Linked DNA regions of Homo sapiens: all the other regions are linked to region 1. Evidence: promoter capture Hi-C in 16 types of primary human blood cells and fetal thymus (Javierre and others, 2016). All regions are on one chromosome and are shown on one strand. The core of a region is centred on a gene start or on the middle of the fragment in contact, and the rest is flanking DNA. Distances in the headings are between cores, read along the strand shown.

Region 1 (3,405 bases), core at 472-2,971:
TTATCAAATTAGTTTAGACAGTGCTGGCTTTTATACTTAAGGAAATGAACAGACAACCTGGTCAAGTATCATTTTCTAGAAAAATAGTGGGGTTTTTTTTGTTTGTTTATTTTTTTGAGACGGAGTCTCGCTCTGCTGCCCAGGCTGGAGTGCAGTGGCGCGATCTTGGCTCACTGCGACCTCCGCCTCCTGGGTTCAGGCCATTCTCCTGCGGCAGCCTCCTGAGCAGCTGGGACTACAGGCGCCCGCCACTACGCCCGGCTAATTTTTTAAAAAAATATTTTTAGTAGAGATGGGGTTTCACCTTGTTAGGCAGGATGGTCTCCATCTCCTGACCTCATGATCCGCCCGCCTCGGCCTCCCAAAGTGCTGAGATTACAGGCGTGAGCCACTGCGCCCGGCCTGAAAAACAGTTTTTAATTACTTCTCAGTGGGAGGACATTTTAGGGCATCCGCTCTTCTCCAATCACAGTCAGGTCCGGCTTCCTTTGGTATCTGATGGCAATGGCTGAAATGAGCTGAGCTGAGTTCCTCTCCCTTCACATTCTGGAGTGGCTCTTTACTGAGTAAGAAAGTGAATTAACATTTATTTAGCTTCTTCCTTGGAGCTGGGTACCGGGTCAGCCTCTTTTCAGAGAGCTTTTGCTCTTGTGGTCAGAGTTACCCTGCAGTTTTCTCCTGGCTCTTACATGACATATCTCAGTACAGGTGTCAAGCCAATGGGACAAAGCCATAGTCCTGTTTTCCTTCCCTCCTTCCCTCCCTCCCTCCCTTCCTTCCTTCTTCCCTCCCTCCCTCCCTCTTTCCTATTGCCCAGGCTGGAGTGCAGTGGCACCATCTCAGCTCACTGAAACCTCCGCCTCCCGGGTTCAAGCAATTCCCCCGCCTCACCGTCCCGAGTAGCTGGGTTTACAGGGGTGCCCCACTACGTCCGGCTAATTTTTGTATTTTTAGTAGAGACGGGTTTCACCATATTGGCCAGGCTGGTCTCGAACTCCTGACCTCAGGTGATCCATCCGCTTCATCCTCCCAAAGTGCTGAGATTACAGGCGTGAGCTACCGCGCCCGCCCTCTAACTGTTTCTTTGGAGTGCTGCTAGGAAGATTCAAAGAAGTGCAAATAAGGTACCAGCGGAGGCTGGTTTGTCTCCTTGCAATTTCTTTGTGATCACCCCTGGGATCACTCTTCTACAGCGTTCCGACAGTGTTCCAAAAACTTCCCTGCACCAGCGGCAGGGGCAGATTTCCCACCCGGCCATGATTCATGTAGAGCAGTGTCAAAACCAGATCCTTTCCTTACACGCTCATTCGCCGAAAGACCCATGCTATGCTGACGGGGTTCCAACCTGGGCTTCACCGACTCCACGTCAGAGGGTCTGTGATTCCCTGAGAGGGTACCCTTAGGCTGAGAGCAAGGGCCCACCTGCACTCTGCGCGAAGGACTGTGGTTTTCATCGGGTTGTCGAGAGCGTTCTAACCCAAAATGCTTTAAGAATCACAACTCTAGCCCTTCTAATCAAACTGCTTTGGCCAAGACGTCCGTTTTGAGTTGCATTTGAACCCTAGCCCTCGGTGGGAGGCACACTCACTTCCACGTTCACAGTTCTTGGAAGCGGTCCCACTGGGGGCGGGGCTGAGCGCGACCGCGCCCTCAACTCCCCCTATTGCCCGCCCCGGGGTGGGGCATAACCACCCAACAGGCTCCTTACTCAAGCTCGGGTTCTTCTCCTAGGCGGAAGCCAGACCAGAGAGCGTGCGTGTTTTTCCCAGGGTGCCCCGCGCTGCTGTTATGGCCGCCTCCTTGAGGTAGTATCCGCACATGGAATTCTAGGGCCGCAGGTGTATTTACGGTAACTGTCGCCACTAGATTTCAGCGCCTTTGGACTCTCCTGTTTTCACTTTCTTTTGTTGACTCCCGTGTGGCCCTCGTGGGAGCCTGTTTTGGCTGCAGCGGTGTCTGGGGTGATGTGGACCCCGGAGCTGGCAATTCTGAGGGGATTCCCCACTGAGGCTGAGCGGCAGCAATGGAAACAGGAGGGGGTCGTCGGTTCAGGTGAGAGGCGCACCTACCGGGCCTTAGGCTATCGTGGGAACTGTGAGGAAAAGGGATGGCAGCGACTGATTCTCATCCCTCCCTTCATTTTTCCCTAACACAGTCTAGCTGATTCCTTGAGGCTTTGGGTCGTTTAGTCTTTGACATGGTGGGCGTGGTCCTCACTTTCTTTGCGCAAAACTTCTTACCGCCCAGGTTCAGTAATAATGACAATGGCAATGTCAGTTATTTTTCTAAGCCCTTAACATGTACTCAGTCATTTAATGCTTATAGTAGATACTTAAGGTAGATTCAATTTTTAATCCCATTTTGCGGTGAAGATCTGTAAATACAGTTGGGTTAAGTAATTTTATTTTATCTATTTATTTATTTATTTATTTATTTATTTATTTATTTATTGAGACGGAGTTTTGCTTTTTGCCCAGGCTGGAGTGCAATGGCGCGATCTCGGCTCGCTGCAACCTCCGCCTCCCGGGTTCAAGTGATTCTCCTGCCTCAGCCTCCAGGGTAGCTGGGATTACAGGCATGCGCCACCACGCCCGGCTAATTTTGTATTTTTAGTAGAGTCGAGGTTTCACCATGTTGGCCTAGCTGGTCTGGAACTCCTGACCTCAGATGATTCGCCTGCCTCAGCCTCCCAAAGTGCTGGGATTACAGGCCTGAGCCACCGCGCCCGGGTCTGGTTAAGTAATTTATTTAAGGTCACACTGTTGGTAAGCAGAGGAGCTAAAATGAGGCAGCAAAGTTGTTTTTTTGGGGGGATGGAGTCTCCCTCTTGTTGCTCTGGCTGGAGTGCACTGGTGCCATCTCGGCTCACTGCAACCTCCGCTTCCCCGGTTCAAGCGATTCTCCTGCTTCAGCCTCCAAAGTAGCTGGGACTACAGGCATGCACCACCATGCCCGGCTAATTTTGTGTTTTTAGTAGAGACGGCTTTCATCATGTTGGTCAGGCTGGTCTGGAACTCCTGACCTCAGGTGATCCACCCGCCTCGGCCTCCCAAAGTGCTGGGATTACAGCCATGAGCCACCATGCACGGCCTAGGCGGCAATGATTTATTTTTTTTATTTTTTTGAGACAGAGTCTCGCTCTGTCGCCTAGGCTGGAGTGCAGTGGCGCGATCTCGGCTCACTGCAAGCTCCACCTCCCGGGTTCACGCCATTCTCCTGCCTCAGCCTCCCGAGTAGCTGGGACTAAAGGCGCCTGCCACCACGACCAGCTAATTTTTTTTTTTGTATTTTTAGTAGAGACGGGGTTTCACCGTGTTAGCCAGGATGGTCTCGATCTCCTGACGTCGTGATCCACCCACCTCGGCCTCCCAAAGTGCTGGGATTACAGGCATGAGCCACCGCGCC
Region 2 (3,760 bases), core at 462-2,961, 4.4 Mb after region 1:
GGCTAATTTTTGTATTTTTAGTAGAGATGGAGTTTCATCATGTTGGCCAGGCTGGTCTCAAACTCCTGACCTCAGGTGATCCCCCCGCCTCGGCCTCCCAAAGTGCTGGGATTACAGGCATAAGCCACCACGCCCAGCCCCAAACCCTTATTTCTATAATCAATGCCTATATATATCCTTTTTCCCTGATGTTTACAAAATATGACTTAAGCATGACCTAAGACATGTTCATGCAAACACATATTTGCTACCATTTTATTTTAAAATAAGCTTAGCACTGAATAATATAAAAAGTATTCAAACACTTTATGATAGAGTGCCTAGTATGATGCGCGAATCCTGTGAGATAGGCAAACTATTTGTAACAGTGGTCCCCTCTTTTCCACAGGGGACACATTCCAAGGCCCACCTTGGATGTCTGAACCATGGGATTAGGAACCTGATTGCTGTCAATGGGAACTTGTTTCTGTTCATGCCTTCTACTCACAAACTTAATGCCTTTTCAATTTTAACTAGGCACTTATCACATACCATGGCCATGATTTTTGTAATTTGCGATGGGACAGCAAAACTAACACAAATTCCTTTTTCCTTCTTCATGATTTCAGACAGAAGATTTGTTCTTCCTGTAGATCTCAGCAACTTTGGCATATGATATTATTTCTTGCCTTCTTAAGTTGAGAACTTTCTCTTCTTCACTTAAAGGAAGCACTTTACAGCTTCCCTTTGGCATATCCAAATTGCCAGAATCACTACTTTTGCACTTTGGGGCCAGTATGAAGTAAAACAAGGGTTATCTGAACATAGGTGCTGCCACACTGCAGCAGCCCATCTGATAACTGAGACAGATGGTGACCAAGTGACTAACAGACAGGTAGGGTAGAAAGTGTGGAATCACTGGACAAAGAGATGATTCTCATCCTAGGCAGGACAGGGCAAGATGGAACAGGACAGTACAAGATTTTATCATGCTACTCAGAATGTTGCACAATTGAAAACTTATAAATTATTTCGGGAAATTTCCATTTAATATTTTCAAATCACAGTTGACCATTGGTAATTGAAACTGCAGAAAGCAAAACTGCAGATAAGGAAGGGACTACTGTATTCTTCTTCATACCTGTAGAAACTACAACTCGAAAAAGGTTAAAAAAGTTTAAAGAAATTACTCTGGACACAAACCTAGAGTAGCTTAATGAGAACGCAATCTCTAAATGCAGCATTCTTTCAATTATGTAACACTGCCTCACATGATTTGTGGCCTAAACCACAGATCAAGCTTCAGCTCTATTTAGTTAACCTTCAGTAGAATATCCGATTTCATTCGTCAAACATCTTTGAAAATTCTGAAAGAATTTATTGGCACTTGTAAAATCTGAAGTTCAAATTGAAACATAAACTTTAACAACATTAAAATATAAAACATTTATTTAACTACACTGAGCCTAACATAAAGTTTCAAGTAATTTAACTAAGCTAACGTAAAGGCACAGTTACCAAGTGATTTACATATAAACATTATAATAATCTTGCTATGTCTGGCTTATTAAATGCATTAATTAAAAACTTATTTCAGAATAGTATGTATTAAAAGTAAATACCTTTAGTGCACTAAGAACAGCAGTAAATATGTTAAGCTGCACAGCCTGCTGGCGGACACCTTTAGCTTGTTTAACACATTCAGCAAAGTGATCCAACATTTGTAATCTATAACAATAAGAAAAAAAAATCACATTAGTGACAAATTTTATTCCAATATGGCTCAAAAACGGATAAGAAGAGTACAAGTTAATTGTTTAGCAAATAATTCCCCATGCTATCTCTTTTCTATTTCATTCCCACAGCTAGTCCAAACCAGATCTCCTTCTCCCAAAATATTATATGGACATGCGGTTATTAAATGGAACAAGAAAAGAGTTTCAATTAACAAAATAAGGTCACAATTGCAGTGGTCTTCAACATTAACAGCACTGTCCAACAAAGCGCCTGGCATCTAGTAGACGCTCAAGGTTTCTTGCAAAGATAACAATCATTAATTATGTATCTCCGTGGAAGATTTTTAAGTTAGAAAATTTTAAATGTAGTATAATTCTTTTTCCTATTTTAAAAATACTCTTAGAATAGTACCTCATGTCCTAGCCTCAGAAGCTTTTGGGAAAGTTCAAAAAAGATTTAGCTTTGGCTAATTTTTTTAAATGTAAAAAACCAGAAGTGAATTGTTTTTTATATTAATAAAAAAGAATCAGTTTATTAAAAAAAAAAAATCCATGGCCATCTTAGATGATTTCTCTGTTTTTTTTTTTTTTTTTTTGAGATGGAGTTTCGCTCTTGTTGCCCAGGCTGGAGTGCAATGGCGCGATCTCGGCTCACCACAATCTCCACCTCCCAGGTTCAAGTGATTCTCCTGCCTCAGCCTCCCGAGTAGCATGCGCCACCACGCCTGGCTAATTTTGTATTTTTAGTAGAGACTGGGTTTCTCCATGTTGGTCAGGCTGGTCTCGAACTCCCGACCTCAGGTGATCTGCCCACCTCGGCCTCCCAAAGTGCTGGGATTACAGGCGTGAGCCACTGTGCTCTGCATTTTTTTTTTTTTTTTTTTTTGAGACTGAGTTTCGCTCTTGTTGCCCAGGCTGGAGTGCAATGGTGCAATCTTGCCTCCCTGCAACCTCTGCCTCCTGGGTTCATATGATTCTCCTGCCTCAGCCTCCCGAGTAGCTGGGACTACAGGTGTTCGCCACTACACCCAGCTAATTTTGTATTTTTAGTAGAGAAGGATTTTACCATGTTGGCCAGGCTGGTCTCAAACTCCTGACCTCAGGTGATCTGCCCACCTTTGCCTCCCGAAGTGCTGGGATAACAGGTGTGAGCCACAACGCCCGGCCCATTTCAGAAGATTTTGATAAAAAGAGAGTGAGAGAGCATTCTTCTAAAAAGAAATGATGTGAAACAAAGGAATCCAAGGAAGTTGGATTTAGTACTAAGACAATTATGACCTCAAGTTGGTAATAAAATCTCCCTGAGGTCGCTGTAAGGATTTAAAGCTCAATTTATACTAGTCTACAGGTCTCAGGTCTCAGGTCAAAGCATTATTCAAAACTCATATGAAGATACAGATTCAGATGTACGTGTATACATGCACATTTTGATGTACTTTAAAAAATTCTTAAAAGTAAGTAAGTACCTTTTGTGCACTAAGAACAGCAGTAAATATATTAAGCCGCACAGCCTGCTGGTTGAAAACCAAAGTAGGATCACTTCTTGCTTTTTACCTTTTTAATTTAACATTGTATCATGAGCATCTTCTATCAAAACACTGTCTCTACAAAAATGGACTTTCTATTATTTATTCACTTATCCTCCTACTGTTGAATATTTATGTTATTTATTATATGTTTATATTTTTAATAGAATTTATTTATTTATACTTCATCTTATTCTGTAAAAGTGATCATACAGAATTGAGATAATCCTGGATTTCAGTTATAGCTTTCATAACTAGTTGTATAACCTTGGGTAAACCAAACTCTTAGATATGGATGTCCTTAAGATTTAAAACCAAAATGTTGAAATAGATGCTTTATAAGATTCTTCCACCTTTAACATCATTTAACATTTATGTGGCAACCAAATGTTCTTAAAGATATTTGGGTAAAGTTTCATATTTAAACTTTTTTCTCCTCAAATTAAAAAGCAATTAATCAAGCAACCTACATATTAAAGACATTTTTTATTTTGTAATTTTTGTAGAGATGAGTGTCTC
Region 3 (3,254 bases), core at 203-2,702, 4.4 Mb after region 1:
TCAAATGTTTATAACAGGTGAGTGAACAAATCAATGTGACATATCCATACAATGAAATACTACTCAGCAATAAAAAGGAATGAACTATGGATACATATAACAACATAAATGAATTTCAAAACAATTATACTAAGTGAAAGAAGCCAGAATACACATACACAAAAGTACATCTCATGATGTGATACTATTATATATAATTCTAGAAAATGAAACTAATCCATTGGAACACAAAACATAATTTAAAATTTTAAAAGAAAAAAAAATCGTTGACTGTTTAAGAGCAAGAAGGATAAAGAGCAGTATTCTAAATTGGTCGAGTACTAACCTTGGCCACTGCACATCGAACAGCCATTGACCTATCAGTCAAGAGAGACCTGGCATTCTTGTAAATATCACGATGGGAGGAAGCTGCTGCACCACCCAGTCCACTTAGAACTTTCTGTAGACTCATTAAGATTTCACTTCGCCCTTGAGACTAGACATGTATACAAAACAAAACTATTTTGTAAAATAAATTCCATATTTAAACAAGAACACACCAAGACAAAAGTTCTTTGGGTCTAATGGTCTTACCTCCAAATTATAAACGGTAAATAATGAAAAGTACAATAAAATTAAGTATTCTAGAAAGTACCTGGCAAGTAAGAATAGTCAATTAAATAATATCTTTCTAAAAAATTAGGTTTTAAGTAAATATATTCCAATATTTCTATGAATTACTGAAGTACATACAATATAATGAAAACATGAAGAGATTCAAAAGCTTCAATATCATATCTCAATATATAAAATATTTCAGAACGTAAAATATTAAGTAAAAAAGTTGAGAAATAATATATAAATGATCCAAAAAAGGAAGCAGAAAACATCCAACACATTTAAAAAAACATGTCAGAAATACAGCAAACCTTCATCTTCTTGTGACTAACTCAAACTGTTATATCCATATTCTCATAGTGCTTATTGTTATTTCTGATAGTATACTCATCACAGTGTATCACAATGCTTATTCACACTTAGCTCTCTTCCACTAAACTGTAAGTTCTTTGAGGTCAGGACCATCTTTGTATGTTTAATGCCTGACAAATAATAAGTCCTCAATTCTTTTTTAATGAATGAATAGACAAATAGTTCCCAGAAAAGGTATCCAATTCTAATCCAATGACTGGTATCACTGAACAGGGAAATAATTTAGACACAAAACACAAAGGGACAGGAAAAAGGTGATGTGACAAAGGAGACAGAGATGGGAGAGATGCATCTACAAGCCAGGGAAGATCAAAGATTTCCAGCAACCACTAGAAGGTAAGAAGGAAAGGAAACATTCTTCCCTAGATCCTTCAGTGGAAACATGGCCTTGCTGACACTTTATCGCAGACCTCCAGCTTCCAGAACTGTGAGACAATAAATTGTTGTTGTTTTAAGCCACCCAGTCTAAGGTAATTTATTACAGTAACCAGGAAATTAACACATTAGCTATGGCACCAAAAAAAAGAAAAAAAAAAAAGCCAATCCAAAAGTACCATAGGACTAAATAAAAAATAACAAGTAAACCTATTCCTTGTCAAAGAAAAGCATTCTTTCCCTTCCCCCTGATATACATTAAAAGAAGGGACAAGTAATAATTTGTAATTACCTCCTTGCTAAGCAATATGAGACCACAGTGACAGAAAAAGAAACAAACATATTTTAGCTGACATCTAACTCTTGCCACAAGCAAATATTCAAATAATATTGGTTGTAAAACTTACCTCTGCACTTTTCAGAGATTTCAATAGATTATTTACCGTTTCTGGAAATGCGCTGCCCAACATTCTCCCCATTTTTTCATAAAATGCTCCGACACAAGCCACCGCAGCCCTGTAAGAAGTGACAACTTCACTAGTCATTGTCCAGGTTAATGATACAATTATACTTTTCTCATTTTTAGAAATCAATTTGCATTTGTCTAGGACACTTTTGGCTATAATCCTTAATTTCAACTATCAAAAACAATTTATGCTTCATAACTGCAACAAATACTATACTCTATTTACACTGTATTCTTGTTAAATACTATAGTTAAATTGTATTCTTGTTAGGAATACAAAAGAATCTATATATGTACATAATAAATCATACCCATTCTTTGGGAAGAAATCCAAGCTTTTCTTTTTTTTTTTAGGGGGAGACAAAGTCTCACTCTGTCACCCACGCTGGAGTGCAGTGGTGTGGTCCTGGTTCACTGCAACCTCTGCCTCCTGGGTTCAAGCCATTCTCCTGCCTCAGCTTCCTGAGTAGCTGGGATTACAGGTGCATGCCACCATTCCCAGCTCATTTTGTATATTCAGTAGAGATGGGGTTTCACCACGTTAGCCAGGCTGATCTCGAACTCCTGACCTCAGGTGATCCGCCTGCCTCGGCCTCCCAAAGTGTTGGGATTACAGGCGTGAGCCACAGCGCCCGGCCCCTAAGCTTTGCTTCTATGAAGACTTTCCAAATTATGTCAAGCCTCAACAATCCCTCTCTTCTTTCATTATATGTAACACTTAATGTCAATCACTGATTTTGACAAAATTATATCATTTACTGTGTTGTAACTTGACCATTTTATATGTCTCTATCTTGTCCTGCCAGTGGAAATGTAAACTCCAGAAACGGAATATAGCTCACATATTTGCATTGCTCACAGTGTCTACCTCTTAATTTACAAATAATACTATACTATTAGTAAACCTGTAAAATTTAATCTAAATTACATTAACAGAACACTTGGAAGAATAAAGTAATAATAGCAACACACTTCTTCAGGAGCAAGAAATGACCCCAGTGTCACTTAGGTCAATAGTAAGTGAATAGCTGTGGGTTTAGCTTAAAGGCAAAAGTAGGACATGGTGGTTAAGAGCGGATGCTTTGGAGTCTAGCAGACCTGTGCCTAAATCCTAGAACCTACCATCTAATAGCTATGTGTAGTTGGATCTTGGAAGTGGGCAGGTGGTCTACCATGAGGCGAGTCATTCCCGCTCCAACAAATAAAAATAAATAAAAGCTATGTGATCTGAGCAATTTACAGATAAGAGAGGTTAACTAAATTTAGCTCACAATCAAACACATAATAAACAGTAGAATCAGGGAATCAACTTTCACCTCTTCAACTCCAAATCTCATGCTTTTTGATACCCTGTAGGCTGATAATAAATTTAAAATGACTGGCATCACATGCCGGCATACATTAGAGATTTCCTAAATAGGACCCATGGATCCACTGGAAATAC

What was found. Contacts are between HindIII fragments. The CHiCAGO score rates a contact against its expected background, and 5 or more counts as called.
Region 2: a contact is called between a fragment that was not itself captured here and the fragment with the promoter of TTC27 in region 1, in 1 of 17 cell types (M2 macrophages). The highest score is 6.4, in M2 macrophages.
Region 3: a fragment that was not itself captured here is called in contact with the fragment with the promoter of TTC27 in region 1 in 1 of 17 cell types (non-activated CD4 T cells); the score reaches 8.4 in non-activated CD4 T cells.

What each region holds. Positions count from the first base shown.
Region 1 is chr2:32,626,329-32,629,733 of GRCh38, forward strand. It overlaps TTC27 (tetratricopeptide repeat domain 27), which reads left to right and starts at 1,722. Exons shown (of 20, transcript NM_017735.5): 1 at 1,722-2,052. The coding sequence starts at 1,965. It overlaps LOC124905985 (a long non-coding RNA gene), which reads right to left and starts at 450. Exons shown (of 3, transcript XR_007086273.1): 1 at 305-450. RefSeq lists enhancers at 922-1,583, 1,302-1,361, 1,584-2,243, 1,772-1,831 and a silencer at 2,082-2,211. The HindIII fragment of the contact is 6,273 bases long and covers 1-3,405 here.
Region 2 is chr2:37,051,901-37,055,660 of GRCh38, forward strand. HEATR5B (HEAT repeat containing 5B) reads right to left here. Exons shown (of 36, transcript NM_019024.3): 17 at 1,602-1,707. Among named protein-coding and RNA genes, the nearest start is that of HEATR5B, 31 kb to the right of the region's middle. The HindIII fragment of the contact is 869 bases long and covers 1,278-2,146 here.
Region 3 is chr2:37,075,160-37,078,413 of GRCh38, forward strand. HEATR5B (HEAT repeat containing 5B) reads right to left here. Exons shown (of 36, transcript NM_019024.3): 4 at 1,752-1,860; 5 at 326-475. Among named protein-coding and RNA genes, the nearest start is that of HEATR5B, 7.6 kb to the right of the region's middle. The HindIII fragment of the contact is 1,382 bases long and covers 762-2,143 here.